2 separate regions of the Homo sapiens genome follow, and region 2 is linked to region 1. The links are contacts of gene promoters, found by promoter capture Hi-C in blood cells and fetal thymus (Javierre and others, 2016). All regions are on one chromosome and are shown on one strand. Each heading gives the region's core, a stretch centred on a gene start or on the middle of the fragment in contact. The rest is flanking DNA. Distances are from core to core; before and after follow the strand shown. Region 1 holds the start of NLGN3 (neuroligin 3). Region 2 overlaps SNX12 (sorting nexin 12).

The links. The method cuts DNA at HindIII sites, captures the fragments that hold promoters and counts their contacts. A CHiCAGO score of 5 or more calls a contact.
Region 2: a fragment that was not itself captured here is called in contact with the fragment with the promoter of NLGN3 in region 1 in 2 of 17 cell types (monocytes and total B cells); the score reaches 5.7 in monocytes.

The regions. Positions count from the first base shown.
Region 1 is chrX:71,143,518-71,148,640 of GRCh38, forward strand. It overlaps NLGN3 (neuroligin 3), which reads left to right and starts at 1,324. Exons shown (of 8, transcript NM_181303.2): 1 at 1,324-1,447; 2 at 4,033-4,689. The coding sequence starts at 4,233. LOC124905197 (a long non-coding RNA gene) reads right to left here. Exons shown (of 4, transcript XR_007068262.1): 4 at 1-110. RefSeq lists a silencer at 2,140-2,395 and enhancers at 3,970-4,516, 4,517-5,063. The HindIII fragment of the contact is 4,718 bases long and covers 1,094-5,123 here.
Region 2 is chrX:71,056,550-71,061,672 of GRCh38, forward strand. It overlaps SNX12 (sorting nexin 12), which reads right to left. Exons shown (of 4, transcript NM_013346.4): 4 at 2,698-4,569. The coding sequence ends at 4,467. Among named protein-coding and RNA genes, the nearest start is that of SNX12, 9.2 kb to the right of the region's middle. The HindIII fragment of the contact is 1,579 bases long and covers 2,414-3,992 here.

The sequences.
Region 1 (5,123 bases), core at 74-2,573:
ATACCTTTCATAGGACAGAGAACTTCCCTGAGAGTCACATTCCTGGATGAAAAATTGCCCTCCATTGGCATGTGCCATCATAGAATAGGTCGTGGAAGGACCGTTTGGTTCTAGGAGGAAGAGAGACCAGTAAAAATAAGCACCCTTTCTCTCTCTGCCCTACTGCCAGAACTGCCTGTTCTCACGTGACCCACCTTGGCAGTTACCCAGGATGACTTGCTCGCTCCCATTTTACAGTAGAGAAAACTCAAAACTGTTGCCCCAGAGTCACATTTGGAGCTGCGGCAGGGCCATTCTCGCCCTCTTGCTTTCCAGTTTGAGTTCTAGATCCAAGGCTGTCCAGGAGAGCCAACTGGTTTACTACAATGGAGTCTTGGAGTCTTCTGCCCTGCCTAGCTAGGGCTGGAAGAGGATCAGCCTCAGCCTTGTGAGTGGGTGGTACAGGATGATTTGACAACTTAAGGATAACATGCAAGCCATAGTTGCACCCTATTACTGGGAAGTGTCTAGTGTGCTGGCAAAACCAGGAGCACCAATCAGTACCCAAGTTATAAAAAATAAAATAGCCCTCTTTGAGGCCCACGAAGCCCTTGCTTATATGGGACTTACCAAGTTTAAGAGTTGCGTGCACAAGGAATGGAACTCCCCAACAGTGTAAAGGCAAACATGACTGAAGCTTTCTTCTCACTTATTCTATCCTGACATAAACATTCTGAGGAGCCACAGGAGTACAGGCTTGGCTGGGATGAGGGACATTCAGAGGGGCTTGGGGGTTGCTAAACAAATGGCAGGTGCGCCACATACAAAAACACAAGACACAAAGACACTGAACCTGGAGGGGAGAGACTGAAATGGTCAGACAACTGGCATGCTGACAGTCTGACATGCCCCAGCAGAAGCAGCAGAAGGGAACAGCATTGACCTTTGGGAGAGTGACAGGATGAGAGCAGAGTGGCCCCACTGGTTGCTGCTTGGGTAGTGCTGGCGCTGAGAAATAAGGGATGCTGATTGAGGTGGAGGTGTGTTTTTGTGTAGTATGACTGAGGGTTCCTGCAGGCAGTGCCTCAGTTTCTCCCTTTGGGACAAAGTCTCAAGCTTTGCGGGTAAAGTTTGGGCTAGCTGCCCTGGAAGATCACCTGTCTGATAGCTTGCAATCTGAGGTGTGTGTGCGCGCCCGCGTGAGAGAGAGGGAGCGGAACGTGCCTGAGCATGGGGGGAATTGGGCCATGCCCCAGGACTTGAGCCATCTCTGGCACAAAAGGAGTTAATGGCAGGGACCGCGCCCCCCCGTGTCCGGGAACGCGCAGCGCGCCCCCTCGGTGCGCGGGCACAGCAGCCAGGCTGCCGGAGAGCTGATCTCGGGGATTCGGGTGCGGAGCCCTTGGCCTGGAGGCGATATGGGTGGTCCGTGGCCCGGTTCAGTCGCTTGCAGCAGCCCGGGGAACAGGTGAGGCCGCCTGCCCCGGTCTCTCATCCTCTAGCTGCCCATACCTTGCCCCCATCCTAACCCCTCCCAATCCCAGGCTCCTCCACTCCCCAGCCAGTGGCCCCCATCCCTCTCAACCCCATGTTCTCCATCGGTACCCCTGACCCCCGATCCTCCCCCGCTTCTGTTCTCCCTTCTACCTCCTCCCTAAATCCCGCATCCCTAACATCCTCCCGCCCATGGTCCCTCTATTTCCACAGCCCATCCCGCATGCTCATCAAAATACCCCTATTGAGGGCCCCCAGCCCCATCCCGGGATTGCACATTGCCAGTCCCCCCTCCCCTGCAGTGCAGCCCCATCCCCCTTCCATCATAGCATCTCATAGCCAGGCTCCCTCCCCCACTATCTGCAGCCCCCCCACCCAATGGAGGCCTTTATCCTATCCTCCCCCATTCCAGTGCAACTCCATCCCCCAATCCATTCCAAGCCCTCGTAGCCCCCAATACTGCAGTTCTCAATATTGGTCCATTCCTGCACAATGCCCCGCGCCCAGCACCGCTGCAGCCCCAAAAGTACCCCGAGATGCCATTCTCATCCCCGGCATTGCTGCCTCCCCTTGTCTTCTCCCAAATTGCAAGTTGGACCAGGATGGAGATCTTGGCCTTGGGGATTCACAGTGGGTCCTAGGGTACAGAGGGCGTTTGGGGGTCGGTCCGATTGTCTAGGTGTTCACGGGGGAGGGGCTGCAGGGAATTGACTCAAAGGAGAATTTGGCATTTGGCGCCGAAGGGTTACTGGAGAGGAGGGCATCCCGAAAGGGTTAATGGAATTTGTGGGTTGGGGGCAGCACCGAGGGGGTTAATGTGGGGGGGTTGCTGGTGGGGAAGCTGTGTGAATGAGCGGTCTGTGCCCTGGAGTTGCCATGGAGACGGTGAATGGGGGGATTGTGTGAACTCAGCTGCGGACTATGCCCCCCCCAATACACACACCCACCCACTCCCTCCTGCCCCACCTCCCTACTCCTACCCCTTCCTTCCCCTTCCCCTCCTCCCCACACCCGGGTGCATTCTGGGCAGTGTCTGGGATCTTACCCCCCATACTTTGCTCCCCATTTCCTCATTTCCTCTGAGCCCCCACCCCTTTAGCCACTTTACCCGCCCTCCCTCCTCTTCCTTTTTCTTCTCTCTCTCTCTCTCTCTCTCTCTCTCTCACACACACACACACACAGACACACACACACACACACACACACACACACACACACACACACACACACATTCTCATTCCCCTCTCGTGGTGGCTGATTGCCGGGCGTTCCCAATCTCCCTCCCCCACCCCTTCAGCCAGTTCTTAAAGGAGCAGGCCTGCAATCTGGGAAGGCGGGAGAAATGGAGGAAAACTAAATGTGCATGTGGCGTGGGTGTGCGTGTGTGTGCGTGTGTGTGCGGGAGCATGCGGGAGTATCTGTGTGTGCCTGTGTCTATGTGTTGACTGTGTAACTGTGTCAGAAGGCCTATGTGTCTGAGTGTGTTGCTATTTCTGTTTCTGTCTCCACCTATGTGTCACCATTATGCTGCATGTGTCTGGATATTTACCTATGCGGGTATGTGTGATTATATTTCAGTAAGTCTCTATGTGTGTCTCTGAATGTATCATTCTGTGAGGCTCTGGCTGTGTGAGGTGCTCTGTCTCAGAATGTGGGACTATATGAGGGGATCTCTGTGGGTTTGGAATATATGTCTCTGTGAGTGAATATCGCAGTGTCTGTGATCCTGGCTTGGTCTCTCTCATTCCCTCTTTGAGTCTTTGTGAGTTTATTTCTATGAGTCTCTGAATATGTGTTCCCCATGCTCCGTTGTTTATTTTATAATACACCGGAAGAGCATCCACAATGCCTAGGGTGCTAGGCAGAACTCTTTCTGCCTCACTTCTGGAATTCGGTGTGAATTAAGAGAGAGCCAACCGAAAGGACCAAGGCTTAAGGATTTGGGAGCAGTGAGGGCTGAGGAGAAATGTACAGGAGGGGCGCAGGAGGGTCCGAGGAGGACTCCCGTGAATGGCTGTCCCGCCCTCTGCCCTGCCTGAGGGTGAGGGAGTCTCTCTGTGGGACTCTGCCGATTTGCTGCTTTCTGTTCTTGTGTCTTAGTGTCCCGGAGTGAGGTTGACAATCCCACCCTGTCCTGAAGTGGAGGTCCCTGTGTGGGCTTACCAGGTCCCAAGGGCTACACAGCTCTGTTCAAGCAGCATGCCCAGGGACCTGAGCTCCATTTTTGTTTCTCCCCACCCCCTGGCTGTCACATGCTATTCTGGCTCCAGCCGACCCTGATGAACCCCTTTGGCTGTAGAATTGAAGTTGGGCACCGGGAACTTGCAGTGGCAACAACTGTCACTGTCAAACCCCTTGGATTTTCCAGCCATGGCCAGGCACATAGAATGGTTCTGATTGGCAGTGGATCATCTGTGGGATCACAGTCCCTGGGCCCCTGGGCATGTGAAACCTCTCCTACCTATAAGAGAATAGCCCAAGCCCAGCAGGGCCCCCAAAGACCAACTCTGTTGCCCTCCCAGACCATCTTGGATGACGCATACTTCCCTCTTTCCACAGGCCTGTCTGGCCCTGAGGGAGTCCCCTTTCTGAAGCTGTGGTGCTTGGACGACCTGCTCTCTACATTGCTGGGCACCTGTAGGTGTCCCTCGAGAGCTCAGTTTTGAGGTTCAAGTCAGTGTGGCCATGAAGGGGCTGCCTATTGGGCTGATGCTGTGACCCTGGAGTCTGCCTCTCCTGCCAGTCCCCCTGCCCGGAACATGTGGCTGCGGCTTGGCCCGCCCTCGCTGTCCCTGAGCCCCAAGCCCACGGTTGGCAGGAGCCTGTGCCTCACCCTGTGGTTCCTCAGTTTGGCGCTGAGGGCCAGTACCCAGGCCCCAGCACCCACAGTCAACACTCACTTTGGGAAGCTAAGGGGTGCCCGAGTACCACTGCCCAGTGAGATCCTGGGGCCTGTGGACCAATACCTGGGGGTGCCCTACGCAGCTCCCCCGATCGGCGAGAAACGTTTCCTGCCCCCTGAACCACCCCCATCCTGGTCGGGCATCCGGAACGCCACACACTTTCCCCCAGTGTGCCCCCAGAACATCCACACAGCTGTGCCCGAAGTCATGCTGCCGGTCTGGTTCACTGCCAACTTGGATATCGTCGCTACTTACATCCAGGAGCCCAACGAAGACTGTCTCTACCTGAACGTCTATGTGCCGACGGAGGATGGTGAGTGCTGCGGCCAGGCACTGTGCCCTCCCTGCCTCCCGCCTGCCCTGCTGTGTTTGTGGCTTGCATGTGGTTGTGTGCCCTGCAGCATGCATCTGTCTGTCTGTGAAAATGCTTCTAACCATCACTCTGCTTGGCCTCCCACCCCCCTCCCTGTTCTTCCCTCTCCCAGCATTGTCCGAGCTCCCATGTGTGAGTGACACTGTTGCCAGGAGGGGCCTGGCCCGGCCTGAGAGCTCTGACGGGTCTCGGTCCAGTGCTGGATGGGGGTCCCCTGGGGGAGTATGGGTCACGGCTGGCAGCTACCCGCGGGAGGATGCTGGCTCCACCAGGCCCCCCTGTTGCCATTCCACCTGCTTCGAAAGGTGGTAGGTGTGTGTGGCCAAGGGCACTGGGTGTGTGGGGGGTGGGGCAGCAAGCCTGGTGGGTGATGC
Region 2 (5,123 bases), core at 1,953-4,452, 85 kb before region 1:
TTAAAACCACCACAGGAAACACCTATTTAAAGGAAGCCTGCAGTGATTTAAAGAATTCTTTTTTGATGTTGACAATTATCCCTGGTTTGTCTGTTTTATAAGGAATGAGTTCTCTGTTTTTAAATGCATAGACAGACAGGGTATGGACAGAAGAAATAAAATAGGCAACAACTGGTTTTTGTACAAACAAGGTAAAAAAAGAAGATAAGAATGAGGGGTGGTGGGTGGTCAGGAAGGGAGTGGCAGAGAACCACATGCTAAATTAGTCACTAAGACTTTATATTTCAAAAGTAAACTCAAATACTAAGATATATAAATGGAATAACAACTACCTAACCTTCAGGCTGTAATTAAAGTGTTGTCCAATTTAAGACTCTACAACTTGAGGACATGTGAGGGCCTTGGAGAGATTTCAGAATAATAAAAAGATAAAAGGGTTAAAAATGAGCCAAGTAAGGAAAAATTAGAACTTATTATATCTAAGAAGAGAATACTAAGGGTGACTCAACAGTTTTCAAGGATATGAAGAAATATCCATTTCAGTGAGCAGCTGTTCTACATTTCCACAAAAGAAAGTAATTTTACTTAAATTATTACAGCATATATTTCAACATAGAAGTAGGAATATCTTCAACATAGAAGTATCTCATGTAGGATAACTATCAACTCCAGAGAAGCCTGAATGTTATCCACCTCTCCCACCTTTACTGGCTTAATTCCTTGTCTCAAAGAATGGGTCAAAGGGTAGATAAGGCATCTTTGGAATGTGAAGATTTAGACTTCTTTTGGGTCTAGCTATGTTCAAAATTTTTCGTTAGCCTCTGTCCCCCAGGTTCCAGCATAAGGTTAAGCCCTTTCTGCACTATAGATAAAGGGGATTAATTAGTGGTAAACATGCAAATACCCATGTAAATTAGAATTCCTTATCAAAGAAAAGTATGCTTCTCCTCAGTGTTAATGGGTAAGAGGGTTTGGATTTAGGATTCTTGCCTGGCCCAGTTAATGTGCCAAAATGGCCAATTTGACATCCAAGGGAGATTTACCTGGCCTGATATTTTTAAAAAAGAAAAAGACTGGACAACTAACCAGATGTGCCTGAATCTCTTACTCTGTCTCTAGCATTTTCCTGCCTTGTATAGACATCTCTTCATTTTGTTTTGAGGCTGGAGTGCAGTGGTACAATCATGGCTCACTGCATGGCTCACTCCACAACCTCCTGGGCTCAAGCAATCCTCCGGCTTCAGCCTCCCAAGTAGCTGGGACTATCATGTGCCACCATACCTGGCCAGATTTTTAATTTTTTTTTTTTTTTTTTTTTGTAGAGATGAGATCTCACTCGGTTGCCCAGGCTAGTCTCCAACTCCTGGGCTCAAGCAATCCTCCCAAAGTGCTGGGATTACAGGCATAAGCCACCACGCCCAGCTAAACATCTCTTCAACTGAACTCTTAAGGTCTACGAAAAAAGAGAATGTAATATCATATTTTACTTGTACCACAACCACTCCACCCTATCCCCAGCCCTGCTGTTAGCATAGGACCAGACACACAGAAGACTATTAGCACTTGTTAAATGAGTTGTCATCTGTCCAAATTTTTGTTAACACTTTATTTTATAGCTGCTTTTCTATTTATTCTGCAGTTCATTCTCTAACACTGCTGCCTATGAAGGTTGCATCTCTCTTTACCCTTCCTTTCCTTTATTTCACAGAAATACCCATTCTTCCCTATCCCCTCAGATATTTTTAGTCATCTCATTCATGAACTACCAAAAACCTCAACTTCCTCACAGCCCCCACTCTTCTACTTAGAACCAAATACTGCTAAGTAACATTAATTTCCTTTTTTTTTTTCTTTTGAAATTTTTTGTAGAGACAGTGTCTCACTCTGTTGCCCAGGCTAGTCTCAACCTCCTGGGCTCAAGCAATCCTCCTGCCTCAGCCTCCCAAAATGCTGGGATTACAGGCATGAGCCAACCACATTCAGCCTTAATTTGCTAATGTTTTGAACACATCACTTTCTGTACCTTCTTTCCATGTTGAGCTACATCAAAACTAGCTTTGATTTTCTAAATGACAAGACTGCTACCTCCCCTCATTCCAACCCTTGCCAAAACCCACTCTGTGTAGGGAAACCATTTCAGAGCTCACTGGTCAGATGAATATCCACCCACCAAAAGTTCTGAGAGTTCACCCACCTTTCTGCCTGTGTCAAATTTATTTGGGAAAAAAAACAGTGTCAGTTGAGATAAAAAGCCTATAGAAGAAATGTTTGTTGGTGTTGTGTGGGTGTGTCAGAGGATGAACACATGCATGTGTGTTTATGTACATGTATTACATATGCAGACACACACATACACACATACACACACACATATATAATAAATATATTCTGCCCAAATTAGCACAAACCCACAAGCTTAAAAACCAAATCTGCTAAATCTGACTCAAACAACAGGTACTGAGCCTACAGCTACTTCCTGCAAGCAGATGCATTACCTCTGTGACAAAGTCAGTTGTGAGTTGCAAAAAGGATAGGTAAATATCATTAAGATAAGTTAAGATTCTGCTTTCTAAAAAAATTTAAATGCAAAACATTACCTCAGGACACTGGCCACACTGTATGATTTCTGCATAATACCCAGCATATCCTAGACACTAAAGAATACTAAATTTACAACTTAAGCAGGAAAACAGAGGCTTGCTTCACAGTGGTTTAATATGAACAGAGTTGAATATGACATTGTCTGACAGAAGAATGAACAGTTTGCTGAATAAAAGCCCCGAGTCAGGATATATATACACAGCAGAAATGGGGCCTCAGACTCTCAGCACTTGTGCACAATGAAAGAGGAAATCGTTTTTAAAAAATGTCTATAACAGAGGATACAAATCAAAAAGGCAGCAACAACAACATTGGCGAGGTGGGAAAGGGAGCAGAGCCTCTCATTAGGGGCTGCTTAGCCCCTGGCGCAGGCTCAGCAGCTGGAGAGCTGTCTCAGGGAACTTCAACATTTAGATGGGTTCCAAATCCTATGTCAAAATACAATCCTAATCTCTCTGATCAGGGTCAGTCAGAATCAGCAATCCTTTTCCACAGTGCCCTGCATAGAAAACTCCAATCTTTCCATGATAGGGAGTCTAAGCAAAGAGCCCCCACCTCTCACCTGGCACCAAAGTTAACTTACTCTCACCCCACCACTTGGGACAGACGTTGGGCCCCAGCAAACAAACCACCCCCTCCAAGACAGAAACCAGGATAGTTGCCAGCCTCAAGAAGCTGCTTCAAATGTTAAGATTTAGGAAATCCATACCAAGCTGCTATCCATAGTTCAACTTCTGGGGAAAATGCTGGAGTTGCATGAGAAACAAGTGCAGGCAGTTCAATAACCCTGTGACCACGCTGGGGAGGGCAGCAAAAACTCTTGCCCCTGAGCCCCATTCAACAACTCAAAGTGCTTAGGAGAAGTCAGAGACTGTGTGGTTGGTTTGTGTGCTTCTGCCCTGTGGCAGCACTAAATGGGATGGGGGAAAGGAGAATGGAAGGAAGACAGTGTTGATGCCCTTCCCTACCGCGGGTAAGAGCCTAGAAGATAATCCACTCCCACCCTTCAGGGAGTTACCTGGCAGTGGTGAGTTGCCCCCACCCCTCAAGCCACCAAACCTGCAAAGCTAACCCATAAAGTAGCAAGGGCTTAGGGAGGGAGAACTGCTGGCCCATACTGACTCACCAGCTGATGAGCAAAAATAGGCAGCTAGAGTGGGAGCCACAAAGGGAGAGGGGCTAGGCAATAGGAGCTCCCCTACTGCCCTATGGCTTTCTTCTGACTCTGAAGCAGCCATAATGATGGGCCCAGAAAACCCACACACCCTGCTCCATACAACAGACTGCTTGGACTCTAGGAGGATTACTGCCATGGAAAGCAACAAGGGAGAGAGAAAGCAACAAAAGAAACTGTTAAGAAAACTGGGAGCAGGCCTGAAGAAAACAAGGAAAGCTTCTGAGTCTCTACCACCTTTCCAAAAAGGAAAAAATACATGCAGTTAGGAAAGGCAGGGTTTTTCCCTGCTCAGTGTTCTTGGTTAAACCTAAGAGTAAGAAAAATCCCCTGAACTTGCAGCATCAGTATGTATCCAAGTGCCTCACCAGCACAAGCGCCCCCCTCCCCCCAGGTTAGCCTTCTGGCATGGGTAAATGCCCAAGAAATTGCCTTCCAGTCTAATCCCCCCACCCACCCACCCCAACCCCAAGCAAAGGGCATCTGCCTGTGGGTTCCCACCTCTCCTCAGAGAAGAGGATCCTAGCAGAGTGCCCACATGGTGTAGTCAGGTACCAGGGAGCACAATGCCAGACAGTCTATCAGGCCAGGAGATGGGCAGCCAACTTCAGATCAAAGACAGAGAGAGGCTTAGTGTAAAAACCAATGTCATTTCAGCAGGAAAGTAGAGGGCAGGTGGTGAGAGGGGCTCCTACTGGCGCACCTTCCCCGGGACGTAGTTCCTGTCAATTGCCTCCTCTTGCAGGAACATGTGTAGGCAGCGTTCATTCTGAGCCAGTGGGTGCCCAGCAATTCTATAAAGAAACCAGGATGGTTATCAGTAGTATTCAGAATCAGAGAGAATTAGCAGAGGGATGGGGATGTGGACAGGGGAAGAAGGGCAAGGTCAGCCCTGAGGTTCAAGCCAGTAGAGGACAGCAGTAGGGTACCACCTCAACCCTAATATTGTAAAGGGGACGGGGGATAGAGGGGCAAGACAGGGAAATCCCTAGATATAACCAACATGCAGTGCTTTCTCAGGCCCTGACACACAGGATCAGAATCCTACTCAAAGGAATGGAGTTTTACTGTCCAGTCAGCCCACCACACAATTGGCACCACATCATGGTACCCATTATAAAAGGTGAGCTGGGTGCGGTGGCTCACGCCTGTAATCCCAACACTTTGGGAGGCCAAGGCAGGTGGATCACTTAAGGTCAGGAGTTCGAGACCAGTCTGGCCAACATGGTGAAACCCCATCGCTACTAAAAACATGAAAATTAGCTGGGCATGGTGGCCGGCGCCTGTAATCCCTGTTACTCAGGAGGCTGAGGCAGGAGAATCACTTGAACCCAGGAGACGGAGGTTG